2 separate regions of the Homo sapiens genome follow, and region 2 is linked to region 1. Evidence: promoter capture Hi-C in 16 types of primary human blood cells and fetal thymus (Javierre and others, 2016). All regions are on one chromosome and are shown on one strand. The core of a region is centred on a gene start or on the middle of the fragment in contact, and the rest is flanking DNA. Distances in the headings are between cores, read along the strand shown. Region 1 holds the start of CRYBG3 (crystallin beta-gamma domain containing 3). Region 2 has its middle 26 kb from the start of OR5K4.

Region 1 (5,011 bases), core at 903-3,402:
GAAAATCTAAGTGGACATCTAAGTGGAAAAAAAAAGAGATTGTGGTCTTAATCACATTAAAACATTTACTTTTGTAAATTTGATAAAACTGGCCATGGATCCCATTGCTGAGTTCACACTGGAAGAGACTGTGCCAGCAGGGAGCCAAGAAACTTGAGCCTCATCGGCTTCACTGTAGATGTGCTTCTACTGCAGGCACTCACTAAACGTCGGGGAATAACTGGATCAGTGAATTAATGACACTGTGCTAAATTAGTATCTCTAAGATCCTTACAGCTCTAAAATTTGACATTTTTACAGGCTTCCTAATGCAATCTTAGAATTTAGTATTTAGAAATTTGTTCATATGAGTTCAGGTTATAACAATGTAGGACATATAGAAAACTAATAAGTGCTCAGAAAGCAAATGAAGGAAAATTCAATGGTCATTGTTTTATGACTTTAAGCTATTTTGTCATAGACGCAATTTGTCTTAGTGTAAACATGGCATTATTTGTATTTACCATTCACTTAAGTGCTTTGCTGTGCTACCGAGTGGAGATCAGAGTATTGTTAGATATATTATTAGTTAAAACCATAATTCATTAATTAAATCCTATTGACTCCCCCCCATTTTTATTCCAAGAAAAACTTCCTGAACGAAGTACCCTCTGGGTAGGCACTGGGGCCTGGTTTGATCACAGAACAAGTCAGGGACAAATGTGATAGTCATTCAATAATACGTTGGGAAGACAAATTATCATTTGGGCCTTTTAGCTGGAAGAAACAGTTTGCTTTATTACTCTCTTTGGGCTTTTTGGTAAGTGGGTCTTCAGTGGAGATTCTCTTATAAAATAATAAAGCTAGAATTGGGAACTTGTCTTATTCTAGTCTATTATCTTAGTCTTTTTCTATTTTCTCAGACTAGGCTCACAGAGAAATAGGAAAAATTTACCAAAGAGTAAAAAAGGATTAATCTTGAGGGATAGACTGAGATGAACCCGATTGATGGAAATCGGGCTGACTGAACTTTAATGGGTTAAATCCTGCCAGAACAAATGAGAATGAGTGTCTTGGCTCTATTGCAGTTAGTAGGAGCTGGAGGGCTTCTGGGAGGCAGCGTGGGGAGGCAGGGAGGCTCAATAGCCTCCAGCAGGTGCTGAAAGGACTTGGGGCTTATAGGTATGCAATCTACTTATGAGCAACCTTCTCCTCCAGCACCCGAAAGCCAGAGGGGAGATTACTCCAAGGCTCCCCTCTGCTGTGGACATTTCATTTTTATCTCATTTACTTGTATACATTTTTTAATGAACAAAAGCCATATCACTTCCTTGACGTCTACTCCAGGGGCAGCTTGCCTTCAAACAAAAACAAAACACTTGGGGTGAATGGGCCTCTCAGTATCTCCTGTACTAGCTGCTATAGGGTATGAAAAACCAAGAAAAATCCATACCACTGTACTTAGACTTAAAACAAGTCTTAAGCACCCTTTGGTTCCCAGATTTCAGTGGCATCTGTGTAACGACTGCAAAATATGTTGCAGCATTGACAAGCTTGAAATCATACTTTTTGATCAGTGCCGTTTTTGAAAGAGTTCGCAGGGAAGTATGGCGTGTGAAAAGTCTGAAGCACAGCGCGGTTAGGAAAAGTCACACCACAGAAAGCCAGCAGAACGCGCCGGGAGGTGGTGACCGCCTGACAGGTACCCCCTTCTCCCTCCCGCCGCCCGGTTCTGTGCTAACGCGACTTTCGCCCTCAGGGTTGGAGCTGTATTTGCGGTAGCTGTTTCTTAGCTCCCAGCAAGTCCGGGGCGCCCCGGTACTGCAGTTTGCCAAGTGTTTTCACAAACCTTAGTTCATAAACCTCTTTCAAAAGCCCGAAGAAAACCGTTTCTGTGCTCTGACTGTAGAATAGAAAACACAACGGTCACAGAAAGTAATTGAAGGCAAAGCCCAACAGGCTGCAGCCTGAACTTGTTTGAGCCGTAAGCCCGAGCCTAGCGTCGCACGCTGGGCGACTCCCCTCAGGCTCTCAGGCCGGCGCCTTCGGGGGACCACGTAGCGCCCCAGCGGTGGCGGCTGCGCCCGGCTCAGGGCGGTGCCGCGGCCACTGGCTCCTCCTCGGGGTGGGGCGGGCCGCGCCGGGCGAGGGCGGGAGGAGGAGCAGCCGCAGCGGCGTGAGGAGCTGCCGCGCGAGGAGCGCGTCGCGTCCGCACTTCTCCTGCCCGAGAGAGACTGAGCCGCGCTGGCAGCTCGCGTCGAGTCGGTCTGCCCTAGCCGCATCCCGCGGCGCCCGGTCGGGCTCCGGGCACCAGGCAACACCTAGGCCGTTCCCTTCAGACAGCCCCGGGCCAGCGGCCCCCTCGGGAAATGTCCAGCGGCCGCAGAAGGGGCAGCGCCCCCTGGCACAGCTTCTCCCGGTTCTTCGCTCCCCGAAGTCCTTCCCGGGACAAGGAAGAGGAAGAGGAGGAGAGGCCGGGGACGAGCCCGCCTCCAGCTCCAGGCCGGTCCGCTGCCAGGTGGGAGTCGAGGAGGGGGTCGCGGGGGGGCCCTGCACATATTCGCGGGATGAAGGCTCCCGGCCTGACCGCCGGCAGCGGGCCGCTCTTGGGCCAGGCTGCAGTTCGCTCGCCACTTTCTGTTCTCCTTCCTCCATTGCTAAAGTTTCCTCCTCCTTGCCCCGTTCCCGTGCCGCACTACTCGCCTCTCCTCTGCAGGTTAAATCGGGGTGAAGTTCTTGCCCGGCAGCCGGACGCATATCCCCCGATCCCCGCCTGGCTCCGCGCTCTTCCTTTCCCACTTTCCCCTGCCCGGACGTGATTGGGTTCCCGTTCCACACACGCTCTACTCTCCAAGTTCTGTGGCAAAAGCGATTTCCCCGGCGTCCCGCCTGCAGTAATGGGAAACACTTGTGAGCCGAGCGGAGCCGTCGGCCAGGGGAATTGGGGGCGCGATCCCAGCACCACTTGTGTGGGAGGAGATCGGGGCAAAAGTGGAAAAGGTAAAGCTTTGGGGCGTCACCCCCTCAGCTGGTATTTTTGCCATCTTATTTAAATTTTCTCAAAATGATTTTTAAAAGGAATTGTGATAATGCGTTCCCAAGACTTTCACCAAAATGGACTGGACATGTAAATGACGCCACCCTTCTTTATTTCTCATCTCTCCTAGAAACATCTGCCTCAAGTTCCCAAACAGATTCTGGAAATCAGGTTTCCAGCTGTCTTGGTTTCAGTAATCAAAATGTACCCTTTCTCTGTAATATTTTTATCTTTCCTTCACTTTCCCATGTTCAAAAATCAAAAAATTTTAGACATGCCTCATTTAAATGCCTGTTTCTGAGTCTTTTCATCCCCCCGAAGAAAGAGGGGTTAAGTAAAACGCAGCTCGCTTTCTTAAACTTATGAGAGGCTTACACTGTCTTCTCCCGAGATTGCACTAGAATGACCATTGTCATTGGAAGGACACACTCCAGAAAACCGTGTTTACTTCGGACTCAAGATTTCCTGGTGGGCTTAAAAAAAATGGATAGGAAACAGAACTGAGAGTGAGCCAATTCCATTAGTATTCAGATTTTGTGATGTGATTTTAGTCGTTTGTGTGTTCCTCGGTTTCCCCGCTTGTGAAACATTTTCATTATGACCGTCTGTTAATAACATGCCACATGTTTCCAAGAAAGCTCCTACGATAATTGAGTGGTTATTCTCCTGGGACGTTTCAGCTATTATTGCTCTGACTGTTGAGAGTTTAAAATTCAAAGTTACACAGAAGTTAAAAATAGTTTTTAAGTCTGACAGATCTCATCCAGGGTGTCAGCTAGTTCTGTTGGTGTGGGCAGACAGCCTGTGGTGCCTGCCACCGCCGTAACAGCACTAACAGTCTTGGATAATATGAACGCAGTCTGCAAGGAAATCCCAAGTAGGCGCAGCAAAAGTTGGGAACTTGAGAGTCAGTGTTAGAAAGGAGTAAGCAGGTCAAATTCAGGCTCATGTCAGTAATGGCCTGAAATCCTGCTTGCCTCTCTGCCCTATTTTGGCTTTTTAAGGCACTTCTCAATTCTAATTTCTTTACTGACTGGAGCTGACCCCTCCAGCAACTAGTTCCTTGTTCACCTACCACTTCTCTATTCTCATCATCTCCAGATTGGCACAAATTATGGCTTTTCAACGATGAAGATTTTAATTGTGCTTATATCAACGCTAATTTTGTTCTCATCTTTTTTGGAACTTGCCAGATGTTAGGGGGATAGCAGATGACCCTTTATGTGGGTGTTTTACTGTTTTAAATGAGCTTAAATCTTTCATTTCAAGGGCATAAACAAACACAAAGCCTTTATTGAAAGTTTAATAAAACAAATGGAACCGCTTTATAGTACTGAATGTCCCAGTAACACAACACCCTGATGTTAACAAGATTGGAAACAGAATTGCAATTTGTCACTGTGATCTTATTTCAAAATGAAAGAGTATTTTGGCTATTTCTCTTTGTGGGCATAAAAACTTTTATCATTATGAGAGCTGGGTATACCTTCTGTAGTGATGATTTTAGATGAAGAGGAGTACAAAATTAAAAAATAAACTAAAACATAATTATGAGACCCGTAAAAGTCGAATTTACAACATCCTGAAACTGTTTTTTTGCCTGCTCACAAAATGCGTACTGGGACAAACACCAGGTCTTTGGGGAGCTGCCATGCCTTGATACAGGTCTTCCAATATTTTACTGTTTTGAACCATAGGAAAATCTTTGTTTTTATGGTGTGCTGTGATTTATATGGGCTTCAGTTGGTGACAACACTTCATTATGTATTCTTTCTTTGTCACAATTAAAGAAGGCCTATTAGCATCAACACTATTGTATATCCCAACTTAGGCGTAGGCACTCAAATTGCTTGATTGTACTCATATTAGGTGGTTGACCATTTCCAGGAAATGCTTATATTAATTTATTTTAGATGATAAAAAGGAAAACTGCAATTGAAGTTTTCATAGGAAACTCAAAAACTCCCAGAGTTCTGTGGATCCCAGTTTGAGAAT
Region 2 (5,011 bases), core at 1,091-3,590, 510 kb after region 1:
TAGGGTGGGGCGGCCAGCTTCTTTGCAGGCTATCCAAACAGCACACCTGGCCTGACCAATCTCTCGTGCCCTATGTAAATCAGACGCTGCCTCCTCAAGCTCCTCTACAAAACCCTGTGCACTTAACCATGAAACTGGCAACCCATTTTTCTCCGGGACCCCTTTCTGCGCAGAGAGCTCTTCTCTTTCTTTTGCTTTTAAACTTCTGCTCTTAACTTCACTCTGGTGTGTCCGCGTCCTTGTTTTCCTTGGCATGAGGCAACGAACCTCAGATATTACCCCAGACAAACAATGCCGCTTCATTAGGATAAATATTTATCTTAAAGCCTTTGAGCCTTTCCATTTTTTTCCACTTCAGTCTTTCTCTGGTATTTCCCCTCTGCTTCTCTGGCTTGTCTTTCCTGCACTTTTCCATTTACGACCCCATAATTCTCTGCTTATTTCTCTGTTCTCCATCTTGTTTTCTTTTCACCTACCCAAATTCTCTTTCCACTTCTCTGTCCCCTTTCTCCTTTAAATGTATTCCTCTCCTCTCTTCCTTTGAAAACTTTTATTAAATTGTTCTATGGGAAATTCTTTTTTACATTTGTCTATGGGCAGTAAAAACATGCCAACCATTCTTCACATTTCATGGAGCTTTCTGTAGCATTTTCCATTGTTTCCCATTTATTTTGAATTACTCTCTGACCTTAACTCTGACGCAAGTGCTCTACTAACATCACTAAAAATCTTTTAATTTTCACACTCAAAGATCTCTTCTCACTCCTTGTCTTGCTGTAGCATTTTTTTTTGGCATTTAGCCCTGTACTATATTTTGTCTTTCTTTAGTATCCTTCCCTCTTTATGTCTACAACTCTCAGCTTTCCAGTTTCCCTCCTGCTTCTCTGATCACTTCCTTCAGTATCTTTTTCTGGTCTCTTTGTTGTCTCTCTTTTGTTTGAGCCAGGATTCTCAGTTACAACAGGAAGTAAGTTTATTACATGGAAATCTGTCTAAAATAGAAATGCTAAGGAAGTTGGAGGATCAGCTGGAAAAATAGGCAGAAACAGAAGGAAGCAAGACAGCCAGTCAACAGCTAAAGCCACGTTCCAACACTAGCTGATGAGGGCTGTTCTTCCTGCTGCTGAACTTGGGTGCCACAGCCTCCACTGCTGATGCCACTGTTGCCAAAGTCAAGGATGCATTAGCTAGAGTCTTGTCATTGCTGCCTTTGCTACCAAATTCTCTTTTGTTCCTGTACCTTTATCTTCCCTCTCCAAATTGCAAAACTATGGAGGGTTGGTTTTTAAACCGTCTTTGCAGAAATTATAACAGTAAGAAAATTATGGCAGTAAAAGAGATCTATCTAACCCACCTCCCATTATGCCTTTCCCTTAATTATTCCTGGGATTTTGGGCTGAACTAACTTTGACAGACATTTAGTTAATAGTTTAAATGATAATAGGCCTTCCCCAAAACTCAACAACCTTTGTAAAGCTAATGAAAGGCCCTCAGGTTGGGGGAGGAGAGGAATCTGAATTCTGCTAAGGTATAGACATAAATGATTGCCAACCATTCCTGCAAATAATACCAGTATTGTAGATTGGCCTTTTGAGATATCTTTTCAGGTTTTTTTGCATGTCTGACACCCATGGCTCCACCTGGACCCACCAACCCATCTCCTGTGGCCCCACTCAGAGTGATTCAATGCACAGAAGGACAGCTTCAAACCCCTACGATTTCATCTCTGACCCAACACATCAGCAGTAAGCACCCATTACCTGGCCACCCCCACTCCTTCCCCCAAACTGCCACTGAAAAACCCCTAACTACAGGCCTTTGGGGAGATTCATCTGGGTACTAACTTTGTCTCCCACATAGTGTAGCTGGCCTGATGTCTATTAAACTCTTCCTTTACTGCAATGCCATCATCTCTGTGAATTGATTTTGTTTGTGCAGCAAGCAGGAAGAAGCCCTCTGGCAGTTACAATTTGACTGGCCAAACTCAGATCAAGTGTTTCACTCTAGGTGCAAGATAAATGTGAAAGTGTGTTTCTACCTCTCTGGTTTCTAGAATGGGTGGTAACTTCTTCCCACCACCAAGACACATGTAGATGAAAAGGGGATGGCTAATAATTCTAATAAATGAGGCATATACATATTATCACCTCTGTAATACAACTTCCTTGAGTTTTTCCTTCCACTTTGTGTACTCTCCAATTGCTAGGTCTTCCATAATGATTCCTTCATCTACTCCAAACCAAGTCATTATTTCTAGTAAGTTCCAGTAAATTCATACTACTAAGTTCATCTGACCTGGATATTCAGATGATTCTCTGTTTGAAATGCTTGTTCCCGTGCCATAAAGAAATAGCACTTGAACATAAATTTAATTTATTTAGTAAGGTCATTTTTACTTCCTGTAGAAACGGTACACTCACCAGCAGTTCTGCCACAAGAGTACACCAAAAAAAGGAGATGCATCCTGACGCATCCACCCTACTGCTGTGTCGGGTTTCCGTGGGCTGGAACAGGACCTCACATTCTGTATTTGTCCCGATTGGCTAGCAACTTAGAACTTTTTAAAAGAGGCAAAGGTAGAGGAGAACAAAGAAAGGAGGAAGTCACTTGTGGAATGTTGAGAAAGGTAAAAACACTTTTAAATAAGGAAGAGGAACAGGCTATGACCTAACGCTTGCTTGGACCAGTATAAGTATGCCAGGGCAAATATTTAGGCTAAATTGTGGAAGCTAAGAACATAAAGTACGTTGATTTCTTTATTATGGCTAGCAGATATTTAAGAATGTTAGCACAGGTCTTTGAATACATTTTGCTTCTAAGAGAAGTTACTATTTATTCCTAATTAGACGGGGAGGAAAGTCTTTGAAGAGGAACCTCTGCTTTACTTTTTACATTCTCCTTCCACAAATTTGCCAATGCATCTGAGCTCTCAATCTGCGTTTTTGATGGCCATCTGCCCAGCCCATATAATTCCATTCTCCTTCATTGGTCACCCCCTACATATCCAAAATGTCATTAAGTCCTTATGACACTACATTTTAAATTCTTTTGAATCTATTGCCTTGTCCTCCTTATCACCCCCAAAGTCATATCACACAAGGACTAAGCACTTTGCATGCATTTGAGTCACCTGGGGAGCATGTTAAAAATGGAGACTTTTAGGCCTCCTTGTTGAACTACTATTTCTACAGTAATACCTTATAATCCATATTTTGCACAAAAAAAGGTACCCAGTTTATTCTGATATATAATCTTGTCTGAGACACATTGGACAATAGTAACTAAGTTTCCTTGTTAGTGTGCCTGATTCCAGTTTCCCTTTCCTGAAGGCTATTTGGCACAGTAAAAGGTATTTAATTTTTAAAAATTTAGGTTTTACCAAGGTGGCCAACTAGATGGAGCTGAAGTGCTACTCCCACAGGAAAAGACAATGATTTCAACTACACCAACATAATTTGAACAGATTATTTGCAGAGAAAATGCCAAATATGGATACAGAAAAGATGCAGTTGCTGAGGCTGAAGAGGGAGGGAGCTGGGAACTCCTCATGGGATGCCTGAATGTTATAACTGGTTCCCAGCCCTGAACAGCACCTGAGGAAGCGGTGCGTGAGAGGACTGGAGGACTGCCCACTCTCACCACAAACCTCTGGGAACCTAATACAGGGGCCCCACACCCCTAGGATGTGTGAGCTGGCAAGGGGGATCTCTCAGAGATTAGATGGAGCAGAGCACAGGTTAGCTCCAGCAGAACCCAGTCATGAAAGCCCACCAGCCAGGGCTGCCTGTCTGCCTCTGAGAAAGTCTAGCCCCAGGTAACCCCTGGGAGAAAGCAGGGCCTGCTTCCCCGTGGGCCTGGGGCACATCTGTTCTGCAGGCTGACTGAGCACCAGACCCTCCCAGAGCCCCTGCCTGGCTGCCTGGAAGGAGCAGTTACACAGTGCAACCTCCACTACCCAGCCTAGATGCTTTGCTCCACCTGAGTGCGTTCCAGCTGGGAGCCATTGCAATCACGCACCACACCTGGAACCCAACCCTGAGCATCCGAAGGAGGGAGCTGAGAACAGGTCCTGGCGCCCCAAGGATGTGGGCTCAGGAGTGCCAAGGTGGAATCTGTGCTTTGCACTTGAAAGGAGGAGGATCCCACACTCTCTCGGAAGACTGAGAGGGCTGAGTTGCACAGATTCGAAGGCTGGTGTGGGACCTAGCTGTGTCTGGCTCCACAGGGCTGGTCTGGTAAGGGTGCAGCCTATCTCCCTACCTGGCCTCTCCCTAAGGGAGCCCCATGGCCTGAAAGACTTAGCAACAACAATGACAACAACAAAAATCTTAGGCAGAGTGCCAGCAATCGGAGGTGACTTCCCAAGGCCCACGAGCAGACCTGGTGAGGGGATCACAGCTCTTCCCTTGCACCACAGAACAGATAAAAAAACGTGAAGATACACAAAGGAACTGCATGACTAAAGCCTGTTTACTGTCCATTGCCTTCAGGCGCCATCTGCTGGATCACATCCCTAACCACACCACCAAAAATTATTCTCCCTCCCGGAGAAACTAAGAGCAAGAATTCAACAGATCCTATTCAGCAAGAGATCCTGTCTCAGCAAGAGATCCTATTCAGAGCCTTAGCCCTCTGAAAACTTCCAGAAACTAAGCCAATTTGGTATATTCACTTTATACCAAAATTAAAGGAATACCACCACTTCTAGATGATAAAGAATTAGTACATGAACTCTGGCAATTCAAAAAGCCAGAATATCCCCTTACCTCCAAATGACCTTACTATCTCCCCAGAAATGATTCTTAACTAGCCTAAATTGTCTGAAATGACCATACATTGAATTCATAATCTGAATGGCAAGGAAGCTTATCTAGATTGAGAGAACATTGAAACTCAATCCAAAGAAGCCAGGGAATACAGTAAAATGATTCAAGAGCTAAAGGATGAAATCCCCATTTTAAGAAGGACCCAAAGTAAACTTCTGGAGCTGAAAAATTCACTATGAGAATTT

The links. Contacts are between HindIII fragments. The CHiCAGO score rates a contact against its expected background, and 5 or more counts as called.
Region 2: a fragment that was not itself captured here is called in contact with the fragment with the promoter of CRYBG3 in region 1 in 5 of 17 cell types (non-activated CD4 T cells, naive CD4 T cells, total CD8 T cells and 2 more); the score reaches 8.5 in non-activated CD4 T cells.

The regions. Positions count from the first base shown.
Region 1 is chr3:97,819,859-97,824,869 of GRCh38, forward strand. CRYBG3 (crystallin beta-gamma domain containing 3) reads left to right here and starts at 2,153. Exons shown (of 22, transcript NM_153605.4): 1 at 2,153-2,497. The coding sequence starts at 2,349. It overlaps LOC101929298 (a long non-coding RNA gene), which reads right to left and starts at 1,918. Exons shown (of 3, transcript XR_427389.3): 1 at 1,829-1,918. RefSeq lists a silencer at 1,930-2,299. The HindIII fragment of the contact is 1,453 bases long and covers 1,531-2,983 here.
Region 2 is chr3:98,325,227-98,330,237 of GRCh38, forward strand. No RefSeq gene overlaps it. Among named protein-coding and RNA genes, the nearest start is that of OR5K4, 26 kb to the right of the region's middle. RefSeq lists enhancers at 1-598, 1,208-1,806, 3,235-3,972, 3,973-4,709, 4,261-4,340 and 1 more and a silencer at 1,814-1,873. The HindIII fragment of the contact is 5,045 bases long and covers 1-4,863 here.